Regions from separate parts of the Homo sapiens genome. Here regions 1, 2, 3, 4, 5 and 6 are each linked to region 7. Evidence: promoter capture Hi-C in 16 types of primary human blood cells and fetal thymus (Javierre and others, 2016). All regions are on one chromosome and are shown on one strand. Each heading gives the region's core, a stretch centred on a gene start or on the middle of the fragment in contact. The rest is flanking DNA. Distances are from core to core; before and after follow the strand shown.

Region 1 (3,222 bases), core at 122-2,621, 340 kb after region 7:
ATGCTTTTCTCTAGCCTCTCTATCATGGCAGCAACAGTTCATTCTTGTAGCAGCAGCTGAATCCAGTTTTCAGTTTTGTCTTTTTTTTTTTTTTTTGAGATGGAATCTCACTCTGTAGCCCAGGCTAGAGTGCAGTGGTACGATACTTGCTCACTGTAACCTCCGCCTCCTAGCTTCAACTGATTTTCCTGCCTCAGCCTCCTGAGTAGCTGAGATTACAGGCATGTGCCACCACGCCCAGCTAATTTTTGCATTTTTGGTAAAGATGGGGTTTCACCATGTTGGCCAGGCTGGTCTGGAGCTCCTGAGCTCAAGTGTTCCCTCCATCTCCACCTCCCAAAGTGCTAGAATTACAGGTATGAGCCACCACGCCCAGCCCAGTTTTTCTTATTCTTGCAGAAACAAACTCTTCAAGATGCTGTCAGAGATGCCAGTACTGTCTGTCACTCACCCCCTCCTCAGACATATGTTTCCAGCCCCATGGGCCTCTCCTCCAAGTGTCTAAATGTTAATAATTTCAACCTTTTTCTTCTGATTGCCCAACTTTACAAGTAATATCTGCCTCTGCAGTCTCTACCTTCATCATACGTTAGGATTATCTTTCTGCTTTAGTGGTTTTTCCATGCCTAGTTAACAATTCCTTTTATTATATTATCTGTTAAAAATACTGATATAGTTTCTGTCTCCTCACTGGTCCCTGGCTGGTACCCCAGCTCATAAGATAGTTTTATACGGTAGCTGGTTATAAAAGAAGTTTCTGAAGAAATTAACTTTCATACCAACACTAACTAGTTAAGAAACATAATTGGGTGTTTATCTGAAATTCACTTGTGACTGGGTATCCTGCATTTTTATCTGCTAAAGCTAGAAACCCTCAATATGGAGAGCCTGCTCCAAGTGTTTTGGGATCAAGGGATGGGATAAGTGTTGATGGGGATGCTGTGTCAATGGTGGGATCCTACACAGGGCTACTGGCATTATGATAGCGTCCTGTTCCAAAGCTTGGATTAGCACACTAGGACAACCCAGGGTTGAAGATAAGTGAATGCTTTACAAAGATGGTGTCTGAAGGGTGGTGAATTTCCCAGGAATATTATCCACACACATTACAATATATTGGACATAATGTCAGCTCTACCTACTCTCTCCAGAATTCTTGTCTTATTATTCGTTTTTGTCAAGTCACTCAAATACACCAATTCGCTGCTGTCTCAGAGCCACCTCCCATTAAACTGACCTCTGACTACAATGGTACTAGTTGAGTCCATGAGGCCAATAAACCTGGGGGCCTTGTGGGCTGGGGGGGAAGGAGCCAGGCCACCCGGAGCTGGCCTGAATCAGTCTTTCTGGGAGTAAAGTCTCTCCTGAGGGAGGTGAATGAACTCTGTTCTCACCCAGCTCACAAGCCACGTTTTCCTGGTGGCGCTAACAGTGCATTCGCCTCCCTTGAATGGCTTGGGTCACAGAACGGTTTGTTCTTGTTTGTTGAATAATAGTACCAGGGAACTACCACCACCACCACCACCATCCCCTTTACATACAAAACACAGAAATTCAAACATTTAGGTTCAAATTTGTATCCAAGAAAGGTCTGGAAAGACCCTGCAAATGTAAAAATAGTTACTCTGGGAGAATGAGATTAGGGGGTTGGGTAGTGGGAGTAAGGCAGTGCTTTTCTTTCTTTCTTTCTTTCTTTTAAAACATTTTATTCACTGCTGCATTGCTTGAAAACAAAAGCTTTACAAACAGAATGTAATGTTAATAATTTGTAACAGACCAGTAACAAAGCAATAACAATAGAAACAAAATTTGAAAATAAAACCCACTTCCAAACACAACTATTTTCATGTTTTGAAATACTGTTTCCCCCCACACACACAATTATTGCAGTTCATAGGATGTGAGCAATTTTTTTTTTATTCTGCTATGTTCCTTAACATTTTACTACAATTTTTCTTTGCATTGCTAAAAATTCTTTCTGAGCACACCCGTTTCAGGGCTAGAAGGGTAGCTTTGAGGACAGCTTGTAGCAAAACTTGTCTTTCCTGAGCCCTGCCTTACCCAGCTAAGGAAGGTGGAGGTGGGGAAGGGGTTAGTTTATCTTGGGCAAGTTCCTTCTTTTCTCTGGGCCTCAATTTTGGTGTTTGTTTTTTTTTTTTTTTTTTCCATCTGGAAAAAGAGGCACTGGAAGCAGGTTCTCCCAGGGTCTCTTCGAGTTCTCATCTGTTACCCTCACCAAGCACATCATAAATAAGGATCATTTGGACATAATTCTTTGTAAATCTTTATTTAATCCACCAGCCTTCCTGTTCCAAGATCACTTGGCGCAATGCAGTTCATTTATCCTCATGATAAATACCTGGCAGTGGACAGAATTTTCCCTTTCATAGATGGAGAAACTGAGTCCAGAGGTGTGGGATGGAGGTGTGGGATGATTTACCACCGTTTCGGCCTCTTATCAGGGCAGCCCTGGGGTTCGGCTGCCCGTGCTATGGGTGATGCATAGCAGACGGGGTCTCCGTGGTGTGGACATCACGGCGGCTTACGTATGACTATTGCACAGATCCATCATGTGCCTGCGGCCTCCCTTTTTTTCCTCTTTGGACTTCAAGTCACTATTTCTCTGTGACATTTCTTTGGGATCTATTCGTGAATAAACCTTTGGAGCCAACACACACACACACACACACACACACACACACACACACGCACACACGACAATTTGGTCACACCTAAGAGGCAGATAAAGCTGGAGCGAGCCTGCAAAAGGAGCTGCAGATAAAAAGTCCAGTATCGGGGCAGGTAACACCCAATTACAACTGAGCAGTATTGACTTACACTTTTCCTTATCGGGGGAATCAGGTATTTGTGTAGATTTGTGTAAATCAGAGAAGGATTTGATGGATACCAGTGCATTGGAGTCTCTAGCCAACGGACAGGTTTGGTTAAACAAAATATATATTCTCCTTATCTGCAGTGGCGACTATCACTGCAACTCCCCGTCTCCCCTCTACTCCTCCGAGCTCTATAAAAACGAGGGCCTTATCTAGCATTTGTAATAGGCTCATGTCTAGCAGGGTCTGTGCTAAAATCACTCTGACAATGCCACAGCTCAGGCCCAGCGCAAGCCATTTTGGCAGACAGATGATTTTCCCTTATCTCCAATTGTCTTGGCAATAAATGTCTTTTTCTTAAGATGCTTGTTTAGACTACCCAGGAGAA
Region 2 (3,163 bases), core at 251-2,750, 400 kb after region 7:
GAGTGGAAGAGTCCAGTTCTGCCTGGATCGGGTACGGTGCTGCCCACGGCAGAGGGCCCCAGAGAGAATGCAGCTGAGTGTGTACTGACCCTGGGCCTCTGGGCTCAAGGGAGGCAGCCTTTCACCCTCCAAGGAACAGGGGCTCAGACAGTCTGAGAACACAGAACACCTGGGGCCAGAGACAGGCTATTGGGAAGGACTGGGGCTATCACACGAGTGAATTCTAAAATTGCGTGTGTGTGCGTGTGTCTATGTGTATGTACACATGTAAATCAGTATTTTTTAGTGCAAAGGATAAAGTGAACTGAGAATATCATAAACACAGGCTCTTTAGGGCTCCTTCAGCGAACAGATAGTCTCATTTGTAACAAACACGTGTTGTTGATTCGCCAAATGATACAATGCTGAAAAATAATGTGCTTTTCTCCAAAAATCCTCCAACTGTTCCCTCATTCCTACTTCTATACATAGGTACATTTCTTAGCAAATGCCGTGTCCTGGAATTCAAAAATCAGGCTAGAACGGTTACAGCCAAGAGGAGCCTCAGGAGGCATGATGATGACATATACTCCAGGGTCATGGAAGAAAAAAAAGGGCATTAGGTGACAACTAAGTATCTGAAAAAATATGGACTTTAGTTTGTAGTAACGTATCAATAATAGTATTGGTGCATTAATTTGACAAGTTTAACATACTAATGTAAGATGTTAACAATGATGGAAACTGCGTGGAGGAATGTGGGAACTCTCTGTACTATCTTTGCAGCTTTTCCATAAATCTAAATCTATGCTAAAATAGAAAGTTTATTAAAAACAATCCGGCTGGCCATTGGGGGCTCCCGCATGTAATCCCAGCATTTTGGGAGGCCAAGGCCGGTAGATTGCTTGAGCCCAGGAATTTGAGACCAACTGGGTAACATGGAACCTTGTCTCTACAAAAAAATACAAAAATTAGCTGAGTGTGGTGGTGTGCACCTGTAGTCCCAGCTACTCAGGAGGCCGAGGAGGGAGGATCGCATGAGCCCACGAGTCCAAGGCTGTGGTGAGCCCTGACCACACCACTGTGTTCCGGCCTGGATGACAGAGTGAGACCCTATCTCAAAACAAACAAACAAACAAACAAAAAACAATTGTGCCTGGCCTGGTTTGATGGACTCCTGTGCCAAATAAGGGTTACAGGTGGGAGGTGGGTGAGTTGAATGAAAAATCAGAAGGCTTGTGATGGCTTCATCTGAAGTCATCTCTGGGAGTGCTTTGCCATAAACATTCTTCTTTCCCTGTTGTCTCAGCTGACCCTTATGCCAACTGCCTGAGATATTATTATCCCATTTACAGATGGAGAAACCAAGTTTGGAGAGTGCTGTCGTTTGAATGTGTCCCCTCCAAAATTCATGCTGAAAGTTAATCCCCACGGTGGCAGTATAAAGGGGTGAGGGCCTCAGGAGGTGATGAGGCTGTGAGGGCTCCTCCCTTATGAATGATTCATGCCTCATCAAGGGGCAGTCCGGGGCCAGCTGAGGCCTTTCCCCCTCCCGCCAGGTGAGAAGGTGCCAGGTGAGCATGCGCCAGGTAAGCTCGCAGCAGGAAGGCGCCACCATGGAAGCAGAGAGCAGCCCTCTCTAGACACCAGTGTCGGCCCCTTCATCTCAGACTTCCGGCCTCCAGAACTGTGAGGAATCCATTTCTCTTCTTTATAAATTACCCAATCTATGGTATTTTGTTACAGCAGCACAAGCAGAGGGAGCAGTTCTGAGCCTCCCACCACCCATTCCACCCACGCAGCTGTGCCTTTTCACAGGCAGTCTCTGCACCCACGGCTCACTTTGCTCTGTGATCCTTCCCCCCTCTCTGCCTGACTGGTGGGCCAAACCTTAATATGCCTTCGAAATTTGCTCCTATTTCACCTCCTCTGAGGAGAATTCCTTGACAGTCCCTCCTAATTCACCAGGCCACACTCTGTATGTCTTCTGAGGCCTGTGCAAATGAATTCTCTCCTCCAGCTTTTCAGATCCTGTATTCAAGCACGCCCTCCTCCAGGGTTTCCTCTTTGAATCCACACTATCCAGCCTAATGCCTAGAGGACAGTGGCTGGGAGATTTGCATTTCTTGAATTGAATTGAAGCTGGCATGAAACCTGCATTAATCAGCTCAGGCTGCCATGACAAAGTCCCACAGACCAGGTGGCTTCAACACCAGCCGTTCATCTTCTCACTGTTCTGGAGGCTAGAAGTCCAAGCTCAAGGTGCCGGCAGGGTTGGTTTCTCCTGAGGCCTCTCCCCTGGGTTTGTGGATGGCCACATTCTTGCTGTGTCCTCACATGGTCATCCCTCTGTGTTTCTGTGGCCTAATCTCCTTTTCTTTTATTATTATTATTTTTGAGACAGAGTCTTGCCGTGTCACCCAGGCTGGAGTGTAGTGGCTTGATCTCAGCTCACTGCGACCTCCAACTCCCAGGTTCAAGCGATTATCCTACCTCAGCCTCCCGAGTAGGTACCACCATGCACAGCTAATTTTTGTATTTTTAGTAGAGATGGGGTTTTACCATGTTGGCCAGGCTGGTCTCGAACACCTGACCTCAGGTGACCTGCCTGCCTTGGCCTTCCAAAATGCTGGAATTGCAGGCTTGAGCCATGAAACCCAGACCCTAATCTCCTTTTTTTTTTTTTTTTTTTTTTTTTTTAAGACAGAGTCTTGCTCTGTCACCCACGCATGCAGTGGAGAGATGTTGGCTCACTGCAACCTCCACCTACCAGGTTCAGGCGATTCTCCTGCCTCAGCCTTCGAGTAGCTGGGATTACAGGCATGCACCACCACATCCAGCTAATTTTTGTGTTTTTAGTAGAGACAGGGTTTCACCATGTTGGCCAGGCTTGTCTTGAACTCCTGACCTCATGTGACCCACCCACCTCGGCCTCCCAAAGTGCTAGGATTACAGGCATGAGCCACCACACCCAGCCAATCTCCTTTCCTTATGAGGACACCAGCCATATTGAATTTGGGCCCACCCACATGACCTCATTTTACTTTACCCCCAAAGACCAAGTACAGTCACATTCTGAGGTCAGGGGCTTAGGGCTTCAGCATGTGAATTTTGAGGGACACAATTCATTCCTTAACAGAGCCCAGGCAGATCATGCTGACTGTAAAGCTCAGGTCAGGCTATA
Region 3 (2,866 bases), core at 361-2,860, 470 kb after region 7:
TGGAGACACTGCAATTGAAAGTACCCACAGTGAAGCACAGGGAGAAAAAGGTGAACATAAACAACAGAGCATCAGTGACTGGGGAGAAATTAGCACGCAGTCAGAAGACACGTAACTGGGCTACCAGAAAGACTATGAAACTTAAAGAAACCAAAAATGGAAATTCCAAATTTGATAGAAGCTATAGACCCGAAGACTCAAGAATATCAACCCCAAGTATGAAGAAAACCACACCAAGGTACATTATAATCGTATTGTTGAAAACCAATGATAAATAAAAACAATCTTAAAAGCTGCTTTAAAGAGGTACATTATATTCTTAGAAGAAAACCTAGAAGGAAATCTTTGTGACCTTGGTGTCACAAAGGATATAAAGAATATGAGTCAGAAGCATACAAACGTGACCTTCTATTCCCTTAGAATAGATTATTCCCTTAGAATAGAAGATCATAAAGTATACAAGAAAAATTGATAAATTAGACTTTTCAAAATTAAGAACTTCTGCACTTTAAAAACACCATTAAGAAAAGAAATAGCTAAATCAGAGACAGGCAGGACATTTTTGAAAAACATGTATCTATATGAGAATATATAATTAACTTTTAAACTCTATAAAAGAAGCCAAAAATTCAATTTAACAAACAGTTGAACAGAGAAGACAGCTGAGCAGCACACAAACCCATGAACAGGTGTTCGGTGTCGTCAGTCATTAGGGGAATGGCAACTAAAACCACAGTGAAATGCCACCACACAACCACCCAGATGCTAAAATTAGATGACCGATCATACCAAGTGTTGGCAAGCATATGGAGAAACTAGAATGCTCACCTGAGGCTGATGGTAAGGTGAAACGAAACAACTTTAGGAAACAATTTGGGAGCTTCTTAACCTGTGACCCAGATATTTCACTTCTTGTTGCTTATCAAAGAGAAATAAAAACATATGACCACAGAAAGACTTGACATATATGTTCTTAGCATTGTTACTCATATTAATTAGCTCCCAGCTGGAAACAACCAAAACATTCAGTAACTGGAAAAATCTTTTCGACTTTTCACTTAAAATTGTTGCTGATTCTTTTTGTTTTGTTTTTCAGAGTAAAGAAAACTTCTACTGAGCTATTTACAACTTTTAACAATTGAGCAAAATATACTCCTGTAAACAAAATTTAGAGCATATTTCTTTCTCTTTACCTGCCTTCTCCAGAATTTGGAAATTATTTGTGAGTATTTTTAACATAAGGCAATATAGTTACTTGAGTAAGTTCAATAAGAATGTGTTTTCTTTTGTAGCAAGACACAGTTGGAGACACTGCTTATTTTACCAAGGCTTTGACTGAAATGACATATTTTCAGACTGCTTTAAGAAATCGAGGCTGACCTACAGAGATGATGAAAGCCCCTTGGAGGAACTGACCTCCTACCTTGTCCTGTACAGGATTCCCGACCTGTGGCAAATAAAGAATGTCACTTTCTGACAGGCCCAGGAACTCCAAGCTTTGTTGGGACCTCAAGAAGAAAGGAATTCACCCAATTCATACAAGTATCTGCAGGCACAAATAAATCCTTGGCTGGGCTCAAGAGACTTTTAAAAGGTCTAATCTGAGATTCCTTATGAAAAAAATTCCAGCAAAGCCAGTTAGAAAAAAAGAGCCTATATGGCCAATAATTATTCTTGCTGCACTTTATGTAAATAATTAGGCAAAGTATAATAAGGCAAGCTTATTTTGCAAATAAATTGGTCTTGTCTTTAGTAAAAATAAACTGGAGAGAGAAAAATTATGTTTCAAAACAGCTACAGCACACCTGTTATTAGATTCCAGCCTCATCCATTGTTCTTGAGCTTCTGCTGATGACCCCATATTTGGTTGATTTTTGGGGTTATTCACCTGGATTCCTTGAGGCTTCAGGTCAGTTCTACAGGGACTCCTGAAGCTAGGACTTTTGAAACTGCCGCTGCAAAATTACAACTGAGACAGTGAAAGAGATCTAACCTAACCAACTGCATCTTGCTTCTAACCTCCAAGCTGTCCTTGGTCATTCCTGGGCATAGGCTGAACTAATTTTGGGAAGAAGTTAATTTATAGTTTGTAGTTAAAAATGAAGACAATAACAGCGCATTCCAGAAGAACCCTCCTTCTTTCCTGGGAACTAGATGCCTTTGTAGGACTAACAAATTAGCCACAGGATTAGAAATTATGATTTAGGAGTCATGCAGCTGGAGGCTACAAGATTCTGATCTCCCACCCCCCAAACTGCTCCTAAGATCAGCGCTTGAGATATTTTGCAGACCTGGCACTTGATGGATCAGCTGGCACCACCCAGATCAAGAAACCAGCTCATCTGATCTGTGGCTCCCACCCAGGAATTGACTCAGCGCAGGAAGACAGCTTTGACTCCCTGTGATTTCATCTCTGACCCAACCAATCAGCACTCTCGACTCACTGGCTTCCTCCACCCACCAAATTATTCTTAAAAACTCTGATCGCCGAATGCTCAAGGAGGCTGATTTGAGTAATAATAAGACTCCGGTCTTCCACACAGCTGGCTCTGTGTGAATTACTCTTTCTCTTTTGCAATTCCTCTGTCTTGATAAATTGGCTTTGTCTAGGCAGCGGGCAAGGTGAACCCACTGGGCGATTTACACTTTCACTCCTTATATTAGGGCTAATTATTATTATTACTATTATTTTAAATTTTAAGTTATGGGGTACGTGTGCAGAATGTGCAGGTTTGTTACATATGTAAACGTGTGCTATGGTGGTTTGCTGCACCTATCAACCCATCACCTAAGTATTCGGTCCAGCATCCATTAGCTATTTTTCCTGATGCTCTCCTTCCCGCTCCCCAATAGGCCCCAGTGTGTG
Region 4 (3,141 bases), core at 156-2,655, 380 kb after region 7:
TAGAGATGGGGAGCATAGGAGGGCTGAAAGGGGCAGGGAGACAGCCTTGACATGCGTGGAAAGTCTAAAAAGACAAAAATTAGCTGGGTGTGTTGGTGAGCACCTGTAATCCCAGCTACTCAGGAGGCTGAGGTATGAGAATCACTTGAACCTGGGAGGTGGAGTTTGTAGCGAGCCAAGATCATGCCACTGCACTCTAGCCTGGGTGACAGAATGATAATCCATGTCAAAAAAAAAAGAAGAAGAAGAAGAAGTGAGGAGAGGCTACTATAACCACAGTGTGTGGTCATTATTAGATATTAGATTAGATATGAATTATTAGATGCATCTGGCATGCAGAAGATATTTAGGAAACCATAGCTATTGCTACTACCCTTAATTTCTGGATTACACAGAGAAGGGATGCTAATTCCCACTCCTTCCCATGCCAATAATTTTGTCTCCTGTTCTGACTGAGAAGGTTGAGGTGTCTGGAATGAGGATTAGCAGATGGTCCCATAAAGAGGGAGTCCTCTGTTTATGGGAGAGTCCCTCCAGTTCTGCATATGTTTGCTGAACATGCATTGATTGTGTGGCACCCCACCTCGCTGCTGATACATTATTTTAAAATCAAACTCTTTGTTTTGGTATTTAGAAGCATATCTTTGATTCTCCGTAAACAGTTATGTAACCACTTTTTTCATAGTAAACCATACATAGTTAAGGGCTACATATTTTCAGTCTAATTAAATAAATTCAATAGATATTTACTAAGTGCCAACTCTGTGCCAAGGCTGGACCAGGCCCTGCAGCTGGAGATGGAAGATGGTGTTTCCTTGAGAAGATTACCATAAAGAAGAGAGACGAGAGTCATCACTACAGCACAGGTGTGTTAAAGGGAGAATAGATAGTTTTCGAGTGTTGTGGAAGCATAGGAAGGAGGAATTAATTCCTCTTGGGGAAACGGAGGAGGAATAGCAGCAAGGCGGATCTGACATGTAAGGGTGTGAACGCCCCCAAGGAGCAGGGGCATTCTAGACACTGTGGGTAAACTTGCTGATGGCCTCCTGTGGCTTCCGCTTGGGCTTGGTGGGGAGGAGAGGAGAAAGTAAGGCTGGAGAGGCAGGTGGGCTGGGAATGCTGAGGCTGGAGCTTGACAGTAAGAAGCCCTGAAGTGTTTTCATCAGGATTTGAGGTGATGGAGTGGCATTCCGGAAAGATCCCTTAGGCAACAGTGGGAAGAATGAAGCAGAGAGAGGCAAATTGGGGCTGAAAGAGTAGCAGGGGCTGTTGAAATAGCCCAGAGGAGCTGCAGTGATGGTCTGAGCCAGGGCAGCAGCAGTGGGGATTTCTCGGGGGCTTTGGACGGAAAATTGACAGGAGGTGGCTGGAGGTCAGACGTGAGGCTCCAGGGCGGTGAGGATGGCTCCCAGGCTTTCCGCTCCAGTGACTTGGGGAACACAGTTGGAATATTGTGAGCGTTTCATTGACTTCACCAGAGGTGTGTGAGCCCTCTGTCTTCTCCTGAGCCTCAAGAAGTCTGGGAGAGGATGAAATAGGGGAGGGAGGGCATGGGAACCAGGCAGGGTAGGAAAAGCCAGGCTGCCTATTGTGGTCAGACCTCACCACTCCCCGATTTCCTGGCAGACACGGAGAACAGGGATACCGGGCTGGGCACAGGAGTGGGGCCTCGACAAGCAAGAGAAGCCCCCTCCAGAAGCAGCCCCGGGAGCCGTCCTCTGGGGAAGCAGATGGTCCAGGAAGCAAGAGGAGGGAACAGGGCCTCATACACAGGTGTCAGAGGATCCTAAGAACATTCTGGACTGGCAGCTTTCTCTGTGGGTTTTCATGGGCTCAGCGGCTGCCTGGGTGGGACGCTGATCCTGGCTCACTTTCAGGCATCGAGGAGACTGACAATCTCCTCGTCTTATCCACGTTCTCCCTCCAAATTCATTAAGTTAAATACACACACACACACACACACACACACACACACACACTAAGACAGTTTCAAATGTGCTAAGCTAGGCAATAGATTTATATATTATAAAGAGATTCTATTCTCTAAGAACTAAAAACAATACTATAAATGCTCCAATTACAACTTACTTTTAAACTTAATGTTTGATGATATCCTTTTGTACTTGTCCTCTCATCGTGCTGGTCTCTGATTTTGTGCCTTTCCTCTGATTTTCCTTCACAGGTGAACACAATCGACCAGCCAAGGTGATTCACACACTTCAGCTTGAAGCTGATCTGCCACTTGTGTCTTCTTGTCTCTATTGAATTAAGTTCCTGAGACCTAATCCTTCCCATCACTAGTATCGGTGCTTTTATTTTTGTTTTCTACTTAGTTGGATAACATAGTGAAGGAAAATGTGCTAATATAATAGAAATAATTGCATTAATAAGCCTGGTAAACAGGCAGAGACAGTGGGAGCCATGGCCAGAGGCAAGCTGCTGGCAGCCAGGCAGTACCACCATACAAAAGCTCACAAATTTCTTTCAAGAAATGCCATACGGCTGGGCATGGTGGCTCATGCCTGTAATCCCAACGCTTCGGGAGGCCTAGATGGGTAGATCACTTGAGGTCAGGAGTTCAAGACCAGCCTGGGCAATATGGTGAAACCCCCCGTCTCTACTAAAAATACAAAAATTAGTCAGGCATGGTGGTGCATGCCTGTAATCCCAGCTACTCAGGAGGCTGAGGCAGAAGAATCGCTTGAACCTAAGAGGCAGAAGTTGCAGTGAGCCGAGATCATGCCACTGCACTCCAGCCTGGGTGACAGAGTGAGAGTCCATCTCAAAAAAAAAAAAAAAAAAGAGAGAGTTCATAATGTCTGCGTGTGAAGGTGTAGGCTATATGACAGCTAAATATATAACAGTGAGGACCATCTGGCTTCAATTTACAGATTTATTTATGTAAAAACTCTCTTCTATTTCTTCACCTTAAAGAAACATGAATAAAATATCCAACGCTCTCACTGGTGCAATTCCTGAGAGATTCCTTTGTCGTATTGGGATCTGTCAATGGGTAGATAAGGAGAAACAAAGGAAGGGATAGAAGTGACACAGAGAGAGAGAGAGAAGGTAAAAAATAAAGGGAGAAGCAGAAAAAATCTTTTTAAAAACCTATAATTAATATACTTTGAATGCTAAGGT
Region 5 (2,986 bases), core at 429-2,928, 280 kb after region 7:
AGGACTCCCCCACCTAATACCTGATAAAATATCTGAAAAGGTCATTGCAGACCTTGACGGAGACACAATTTCAACCCAAGCTGATAAAACAACAACTAGCAAACTTTTATCAGAATAAAATGTAACTTTGCCATTTCCCAGCTCAATTGATGAACTCTTTTTTATCTAAAATGACAGATATCATAAGATAGGAAAACCTCTAGATAAGCAACCAAATTGAGTTGTTTGAATCAGATCTGATTGTCTGCCCCTGGTTCAAACTCCCACACCTGCTCGGAATGGGTCAATGAGCGCCTCCTGGCATGGTCCCGAGGGGTTTGGAAACATTGCAAAAGTGGTGAACTTTGAGACTTCAGCGTTTATTCTGCGATTATAATTAACCTGCTCACCAGTTGCTATCGATCAGTTCTAAATGGAGGCGATAAGGTTTGACTGGATTTCTAGAAGTAGAAATGGAGATTTCAACTGGGGAGTAGAAAGGAAGATTTAAAAAATAACTTAAGGACTGATTAGATTTTAAGAAGCAAAACTGGATTTGCGATTAGGGGATCCCAAAACCCATGGCTTTGATCTGCCTGGAAGAATCGTGAGGAAGCTTGAGTACAAAGGAAAACTCCAAAATTCAAAATTCCCACCAAATTGTGGTAGTAACTTCTTGATTTTTTATCCTCCAAAATAAAATATATCTGTAACTATTCAATGTGGGTTACAGACAGCCTCAAATTTTACTTGCAGAGGCTTTTCAATGACTTTAAACACACAGAATGGCCCACCTGTCTGGATTTTACTCCTCCTTTGGAGGGAAAATATATTTTAAAACATCAGGTCAATTCTTGGGCTCCTGCAAAATGCAGAAGGCCAGAAAACCAAATTCCCATCATTCAGATAAGAAACTTGAATATCGTGGCTCAATTCTGATTACAGAGCAGTAATAGATAAAAGCATAGGCCACCTGCCAGAAACAAGAAAACTTCCACTGATGGGCTGCTACATTCAGTTCAGACCAATTCCACGGGGCTTTTCCTGCCTGGGGTTTTAGTCATTGTCTTGATCCATGCCCCATTCTTATCTTTACTAAAATCATCATTATTGTGCTTTTATTATGATTTTCTCCTCTTCTTTCTCTGCTTTTACCACAAATATATTTGAAATCTTCAGAGAAAAGGGAACACAGAGGGTCAGTTATAGATTTCTCTTAGGAAAGGGATTTTTGAGTGAGCCATATGGTTTTGCTCTTAAGCAGCCAACAGTTCCCCTAGAGTTAGGAGAATCCTCCCATTGGAAGGGTCTGAATCCTGGGAAGTCTCTTTAGTTCTCTGCACACCAGAATCCAACGGCTAGAAAGGAAGTTTGTGCAACACTGGGATTCCTAACATTGCATTCCTGAACTGCAGAGCTTACAGTTGAGGAATGATACGGAAGATTCCGTAGGACGACATTGCTCCTAGAGAGACAGTGATTGGTGGGAAGCAAACGGAAACTCAGACAAGAAGCTACCCTGGGGAGAGGAAGCGGATGGGAGCGACAAGTCATGGAAAATCCTAAGGTTTAATAGAGCCCTTCAATCACACATAGCTTCTGGTTCTGAAGAGCCAAGTGCCCTCATATCAGATTTGGCAAATACAAAGTGTGGGGAAAGGGGGAAAGTACAATCCTGCAGGTTGGACTTACCTGGGTTCCAAACCAGGGCTGTTTACTACCCACGGGGACCTGAGATTACAGGCTCTTTCTGGGTATCAGCTTTCTTTCCAGCAAAACAGAGATCATCGTATCTACCTCTTGGAGAAAGACTTCAAAGTCCCTGGCATCAGATGATTTCTTCATTGACAGGGATCCACCTTACTGTTCAATGGAATGACATGCAAGATACAGGCTACTCTCGCTAAAAAGTTGTTAGCCAGTATCCAAACGTGAATGTGCCAAAACTTATAAATGTATTTTGTATAAATTAAAACAGATTCAAGATTATTCCTATTATAACCCCATTTATATTTTCTTCCCTGCCTTCTTTAGAAGGTAACAAAAGAGTAGCTCTAGAGATAGCCATTAAATTACTCTTAGTAACCAGTTTATGTTGTATGGCATATGGGGCCATGTCATGGTCTACCAGAGGTCAATATAGCAGAGCGATACTCCTTCCCAACAGAGCCTTAACAGCTGGTTCTGCAGGCAGGCTAGGACAAATAAGTTCCCAAAAGACAAATAGTTTCAGATGTCAGAAAAGTTGCTTCAAGTTCTTAAAGCAGCAGCTCGCGTTGGCAAGAACTGCCCTCTTCTGGAACAAGGAAAGGAAAACTAGCATACTTCCTCTTTCTTATGCAGACACAAGCAGCTACATTTGCAACTGGCTTCAGCTCTAAATTCAGTACAACTAAATTGTCTTAAAATTTGTTTAAAAGAATCACCTTGCCCTGGAGGAAGGTAACTTGTTCTTCACACAATCCCACCGCTGCAGCCGGTTAGTGGTTTTCAGGCAGGTTCTAACTCCAATATAACCTGAGGGAAAACTGCCTACCTGGAGAGGTCACCATTGCCTAGTACGTGACTGTTTGTGCCCACAAGTGGGGAAGCCACAGTAGTGTGGGGCTGGGGTGTCCGCCCATTGCTGATTTAGATCCACTACCAGCACTGAGACCAGGAGTAGAGATTTCCCCCTCTCAGTAAAGCAACCTCCTGTGAAATAAGCAAAATCAAAAGCCAAATACAGGATTGCCACTGAGGATGGTTTTGATCTGCCTTGAAGAATCTTGAGGAAGCTTGAGCATAAAGGAAAACCCCCAAAATTGTAAAAGAATAGGTAAAAGACAAATTTAATAAAAAACAACTTATGCCTTAAAGCAGTTTTCCTGTGCATCCATAAACACTAAATAGAGAATCTTCTTTAAAAAAAAAAGAAAAAGATGCTACTTTCAGGTTGATTCATGAATATCATGTATCTGTTTTTTAAAACTTAATTAGTTTAATATGTTTTTAAAATTAGGTAATA
Region 6 (2,885 bases), core at 293-2,792, 310 kb after region 7:
TAGAGGTGTTCCCCCCTCTCTTTTACCTAGTACTCTTTCTGGACCTCAACACACACACACATGCACACACATGCACACAGACGCACACACAGGCTGTGGCCTGAGTTGGGGGACAGAATGCCTGCGGACTCTGTGCTGTTCATGCACTGACACCCACACCCATAACCTATGACTTGGCCCTTTTCACACATTCGATGCCAAACACTCATATCGATCCTGGACCTGCGGAGTGCCCATTTGGAGGGCACAAGGGCTGGGAGTGGGGGTAGGGCAAGAGATGCAGGCCCCAGTATAGTTTCCATCACCTCCTCCTGGTGTGGCCTCAGGCACGCCAGCCGCCCACTCTGGCCCTCGGTCTCCTCATCTGTGAAATGCACCGGTTGTGCTGAATCAATCCTCTGTCTCTCTCTCTCTCTCTCTCTCTCTCTCTCTCTGTGTGTGTGTGTGTGTGTGTGTGTGTGTGTGTGTGTGTGTTTGTGCTGAATCAATCCTCTTTTTTTCTCTCTCTCTCTCTCTCTTCTTTCTCCCTTTCTCTCTTTCTCCACAGGGTCTCACTCTGTCACCAGGCTGGACTGCAGTGGTGCGATCTCAGCTCACTGCAGCCTCTACCTCCCCAGGCTCACATCTTCCCACCTCAGCCTCCCCAGCAGGACCACAGGCGCGCGCCACGACGCCTGGCTAATTTTATTTTTTCGTAGAGATGGAGTTTCGCCATGGTGCCCAGGCTGGTCTCTATCTGCTGGGCTCAAGCGATCCTGCCGCCTCTGCCTCACTAAGTGCTGGGATTACAAATATGCGCCACCGCGCCCAGCTTGCCGAATCATTTCTAAGCTTCCTTACAGCTCTTTAGGAACAAATGAACACCACATCGTTAACAGACACTGGGATTAAGAAGTGGAATAAAGCCATGTATTTGTTGCCGGGTAGAAAAACGCTGCCGGCCCACTCCACGCAGAGGCCCCGCAGGCGCTGGCAGAAGCCTCGGTGCGCGGCCGGGGGTGCAGCCCGGGTGATGGATGGCCGCGGGGCCGGCGCCTGGCAGGCCTTATTGATGAGGTGCGCGCTGACGGCCGCCGCGGAACCCCAGGCGGCTGGAGGCGAGCGCGGGGCGGCGGGCGGCGCAAACTCGGCGGCGCTCGGGGTCAGCCCCCGGCCGGCCGCCCCCGCCTCTGCCCGGCCTGGCGCCCGCTGCGCCGGCCCCGCTTCCTCCCCTCGGCAGCCTCGCTTCCCGCCCCCCGTCCGTCCGCGCCCTCGCGTGGGTCCCGGCGCCTGCTCTCCCTCCCAGCCTCCCGACGGAGCAGCCCCGCACCCCTCACCCCCGCACCCCCGCACGCACCCGCGGTGGAGGTCGGCTGAGGCGCAGAGGCCGCGGGTCCCCAGAAGCCGGTTCCCGCCCCAGCGCGGGGGCCACGCCCTCCCAGGCGGAGCCGCCGCGGCCCGAAGGATCAGATTCAATCTAGATCCGCATGAGCATAGTTTCACGGGAATTACTCACGCTGTGCACGGGAGGAGAAAATTCAGGACACCGGTCAATATTCTATTAGGGTTCATTCGAATTATATAGTGATAGATAAGATAGGTAGAGAAATCAACGTAAATACACCTGCGTATAAAGACGGCGAGGTCTTGCGTGAAATTTTTTGTACGTTTCTAATGTTCTCATGGAGCAAGTGTTCTTTTATAACAGCACACACTGTCATTGCTGTGCTTGAAAAGGTGTGATGGAGCTTAGTTCATTCTCCACCCCTGCGCTCAGTTTCCCCCAGTTCCACCTTCCTCCCTCTGGTTGTTGCCTCGTTTTTCTTCTCTTGCCTTTGGGGAAGTAGGAGTGAGGCTGCTGGGCTGTTACCTGAGGCCATTAGGCTGGAGAACAGGTGGCCCGAGCTCCTGCCTGCCTCACCTGTCACCTTCCCTTTCTACGGAAAGCACCCACGGCCACCTCTGTTGGTGACACTAAGGTGAGGATCATGAACAGATCCCCTGCGAAGCAGTCTCCCTGAATGAGAATTAAAGGAGAAAGTCAACATTGTAAGCAACATGGAGCATTTATGGTCTGAAGTGGTTTTTGATTTTTTTTTTTTCTTCCCTCTTTGAGTTGAGAGCTAGCCCTGGACTGGGAAAGGTCCTAAATTCTTCCTTAGATGTGCCTTAAGTACTGGGAAACAGGTAGTCTTTTGTTTGGGGCGCCATAGAAAGAGGAGGGAGGGACCCCAGGTTGCTGTGGCCTGAGTGTCAGTGTAGAGCGAAGCTTAGGCCTCGAGGATCTGGATCTAGTTGAGGCTGGAGGGAGCTCCTTGGTCTGGGAGTCAGGATTCCCGGATTCTAATCCCACGACTGCCACCAGAGGACTGCCATGCCCACAGGCGAGTCACTTAACTTTCTAAGCCTTAGTTTTCTGTCCATAAAATGAAGAGACTACTAAACTGTCTCCCAGGTTCCTTCCTATCCCAACATTTTGTGACTTTAAGCTCTCGAAATCCAGCCTGGACAACATGGAGAAACCTCATCTTTAATAAGGAATAGAAAAACATAGCGGGTTGTGGTGGCACGTGCCTGTAGTCCCAGTTACCAGGAGGACTGAGGTGGGAAGATCATTTGAACCTGGGAGGTTGAGGCTGCAGTGAGCAGTGATGGCACCACTGCACGCCAGCCTGGGCAACAGAGTGAGGCCTTATCTCTTAGGGTGGGAACACCAGGATCCTAAGTCTGAACTCAATCTTAGCCATTCATAATGAATATGTTCAGTGAGGAACTAAAAATGGGAGGCCCATCTGAATATGCAAAATAAAAGGCTTGGATTGCAGATGAAAACTGGGATCCATTTACTAGGCAAACATTTACTGAGTAACACTGGACATTGCTATATGCCAGGCACAGCGCCAAGT
Region 7 (2,865 bases), core at 56-2,555:
AGCTGGTACCAAGTGTTTCTGATGCCTTGGCCCTTTGCGTCCCAAGACGTCTGTGAAAGAAAAGAAAGAAAGAAAAGAAAGAGAGAGAGAGAGAGAAAGAAAGAAAGAAAGAAAGAAAGAAAGAAAGAAAGAAAGAAAGAAAGAAAGAAAGAAAGAGAAAGAAAAAGAAAGAGAGAGAGAAAGAAAGAAAGAAAAAGAAAGAGAGAGAGAAAGAAAGAAAGATTCTTTAGCTTTTTCAGTGTCACTTCCTTACCATAGGTTCTAGCTCCCCAGGCCCTGGCATCTACTAATTCTTCCTGGCTGGCCCAGACTAGATTCAAAGTAGAATTTTTGCTATATTTCAGAACCCCTTTGTCCCAGGAGACAATATAGAAGAGTGGTTAATTAATTTGGGTTCTAGAATCTCTGTAAGACTTATCAGTCCCAGATGTGTGATTTTAGAAGAATTACTCAAATCTCTGCTTCAACATCTTGAAAATGTGAATTGTGAAAATGTCTAGTTAAGAGATCATTTGTAAGATTAAGTGAGGCAATATTAAAAAAAATACATACTACAATCCTTGATGCCTAAAAGTGCTCCAAATACCAGCTGTTAGGAATATATCTGCAGTAGTTCCCCACCCAGCCACAGTTCTAGTTACTTACAGTCAACCACAGTCCAAAATATTAAATACGCTGGGTGCAGTGGCTCATGCCTGTAATCCCAGCGCTTTGGGAGACCAAGGTGGGTGGATCACCTGAGGGCAGGGGTTCGAGACCAGCCTGGCCAACATGGTGAAACCCCGTCTCTACTAAAAATACTAAAATCAGCCAGGTGTGGTGGCAGGTGCCTGTAATCTCAGCTACTCAGGAGGCTGAGGCAGGAGAATCACTTGAACCTGGGAGGCAGAGGTTGCAGTGAGCCAAGATCACGCCACTGCACTCCAGCCTGGGTGACAGAGCAAGCCTCCATCTCAAAATAAATAAATAAATAAACACAAAATTCCATAAATAAACAATTCATAAGTTTTAAATTGCATGCTGTTCTGAGTAACACAAAATCTTGCACTACGCAGCTCCACACACCCAGAATGTGAATCATCCCTTTGTCCAGTGTATCCACACTGTAAACACTACCTGCCCATTAGTTATTGAAATCATATGCTTCTGAGATCCAGCCACTAACATCACCATGGCTCAGTGACCCAGCATCACCCGAAGGAGATGATCCCCCTTCTGAGCTATGGTCAGAAGATTAGCAATAGCCTAATGCTATGTCACAATGCCTATGTCGTTTTCCTCACTTCCTCTCATCACATAGGCATTATATCATCTTACATCAGCACAAGAAGAAGAGTGAGCATAGCACAGTAAGATATTTTGGGGGAGACAGAGTTCACATTCACATAACTTTTATAGTATTGTTATGATAGCATATTGTTATAATTGTTTTATTATTAGTTATTGTTATTAAAATCTTACTGTGCCAAATTTATAAATTTAACTTTATCATAGGTCTGCATGTATAGAAAAAAAGCACTGTATATATAGAGTTCAGTATTATCGACTGTTTCAAGCATCTACTGGGGGTCTTGGAACATAGCCCCATGAATAAGGAATAACTACTATATATTGTAAAGTTAAAGTATAAACCTAATATCTAGAGTTCATTTATTTATTCAACAAATATACCTTTGGCACTGATGGCCTGCTAGACTTTCAGCCCAATACTGGTGTAAAATGATAAATAAGACAGTCATGGAATCTACTCGGATTTCACAGTCTAATCAGAGACACAAATAATTGATATAGTAACAATTGTGACAAGTGCTATGAAAAAAAAAGGAATGGGTGCTGTAAAATTTGTAATGGGAAAGAGGACCATCTCTTCACAGAGGATACAGAAGCTGCTTCCTTCTGCATCTCCCACTGTTGGCTAGAATACATTTCTGTTTATTAGGATTGTCATTTGGAAAGGCTGCATATTGAATCTGTATGGCTCAGGGTCAGACAGGGACATTTCAATTGCAGCTGAGAGTATGGCAGTTGCAGAACAACCACAGATCAGGAAGATGAGAAGAGTAGCATGATGACCCTAAAGAAATACCAAACCCAGGAGGCAGAAGAAAGAGCCATCTAGTCCTAGCGTGGAGCATATTGTACTTCTCCATTTTCTAATCCCAGAGCACCATGTGGCCTTAGGGGAATATATGGATGAAAAGAAAAAGCTGGTGTGCTGGTAAGCCACATACTTGTTTTCAAATGATGCGCACATCTCCCCTCTTTATCTCTAAAGTCTATGAACTAGGTCAGCTCCCAACTCGTGGCACCTACAGTGAACCAGACGCTGAGCCAGGGGAGGTCTAGATAACAAGAGACGATCTCTGACAGTTGCTGAAATTCTTCTTTACCTTTTAGAGCAAAACTCAGAGGCTGTCCTGTTCTGATATTTAAGTAAAATCACGAATTGCTGGTAGTTGGTGACCTAGTCAGTGAACGAGCTCCTTATCAATAGTGGGAGAATGATAGTAATAGTCCGTTCTGGGGAAAAGAATTTGGCACTGTAATGGTCTTGGGGTTTTTTAACTTTGGCTTTGTAAGCAACATTATTTTTGCTTGGGTTAAAGCCTCTTCCAGCTGTTTATCAACATAGATAAAAGTATATTGCTTTATTATTTCTCCTTGAGTCATATTCAACACTTTCTTTGCATGGGCAATGCCAGTATCCCACTGAGCATGTCCTCTCTGAGGTTGAGGTTTCCAGGTCTTTTTTTCTCAGAGTGATTGCTGGCTTCTTTGGGAGCCTCAGCCAGTAATTCTTTATACTGTTTATGACCTTTATACTCCCATACCTGCTTTTCATGAACCCACGCCCTCACTGGCTGG

Evidence for each region. Contacts are between HindIII fragments. The CHiCAGO score rates a contact against its expected background, and 5 or more counts as called.
Region 1: a fragment that was not itself captured here is called in contact with the fragment with the promoter of DEFB134 in region 7 in 2 of 17 cell types (endothelial precursors and megakaryocytes); the score reaches 5.9 in endothelial precursors.
Region 2: a contact is called between a fragment that was not itself captured here and the fragment with the promoter of DEFB134 in region 7, in 6 of 17 cell types (M2 macrophages, non-activated CD4 T cells, endothelial precursors and 3 more). The highest score is 6.7, in M2 macrophages.
Region 3: a contact is called between a fragment that was not itself captured here and the fragment with the promoter of DEFB134 in region 7, in 4 of 17 cell types (monocytes, M1 macrophages, total CD4 T cells and 1 more). The highest score is 6.5, in monocytes.
Region 4: a fragment that was not itself captured here is called in contact with the fragment with the promoter of DEFB134 in region 7 in 2 of 17 cell types (erythroblasts and M2 macrophages); the score reaches 6.0 in erythroblasts.
Region 5: a fragment that was not itself captured here is called in contact with the fragment with the promoter of DEFB134 in region 7 in 4 of 17 cell types (M1 macrophages, erythroblasts, monocytes and 1 more); the score reaches 6.3 in M1 macrophages.
Region 6: a fragment that was not itself captured here is called in contact with the fragment with the promoter of DEFB134 in region 7 in 1 of 17 cell types (M2 macrophages); the score reaches 5.8 in M2 macrophages.

What each region holds. Positions count from the first base shown.
Region 1 is chr8:11,660,998-11,664,219 of GRCh38, reverse strand. No RefSeq gene overlaps it. Among named protein-coding and RNA genes, the nearest start is that of GATA4, 42 kb to the left of the region's middle. The HindIII fragment of the contact is 736 bases long and covers 1,004-1,739 here.
Region 2 is chr8:11,598,060-11,601,222 of GRCh38, reverse strand. No RefSeq gene overlaps it. Among named protein-coding and RNA genes, the nearest start is that of LINC00208, 23 kb to the right of the region's middle. RefSeq lists an enhancer at 949-1,785. The HindIII fragment of the contact is 6,914 bases long and covers 1-3,163 here.
Region 3 is chr8:11,528,931-11,531,796 of GRCh38, reverse strand. All of the region lies in intron 1 of BLK (BLK proto-oncogene, Src family tyrosine kinase), which reads right to left. Among named protein-coding and RNA genes, the nearest start is that of BLK-AS1, 28 kb to the left of the region's middle. The HindIII fragment of the contact is 224 bases long and covers 1,499-1,722 here.
Region 4 is chr8:11,619,227-11,622,367 of GRCh38, reverse strand. No RefSeq gene overlaps it. Among named protein-coding and RNA genes, the nearest start is that of LINC00208, 44 kb to the right of the region's middle. RefSeq lists an enhancer at 1,002-1,502. The HindIII fragment of the contact is 4,298 bases long and covers 1-3,141 here.
Region 5 is chr8:11,716,220-11,719,205 of GRCh38, reverse strand. The region is part of intron 2 of GATA4 (GATA binding protein 4); the gene reads right to left. Among named protein-coding and RNA genes, the nearest start is that of SNORA99, 12 kb to the right of the region's middle. RefSeq lists a cis regulatory region at 339-352 and an enhancer at 274-418. The HindIII fragment of the contact is 2,161 bases long and covers 598-2,758 here.
Region 6 is chr8:11,691,112-11,693,996 of GRCh38, reverse strand. It overlaps a transcript of GATA4 not described here. Among named protein-coding and RNA genes, the nearest start is that of GATA4, 12 kb to the left of the region's middle. The HindIII fragment of the contact is 1,417 bases long and covers 834-2,250 here.
Region 7 is chr8:11,999,192-12,002,056 of GRCh38, reverse strand. DEFB134 (defensin beta 134) reads left to right here and starts at 1,305. Exons shown (of 3, transcript NM_001302695.2): 1 at 1,305-1,349. It also overlaps the pseudogene OR7E160P and the pseudogene LOC100421446. The HindIII fragment of the contact is 7,293 bases long and covers 1-2,865 here.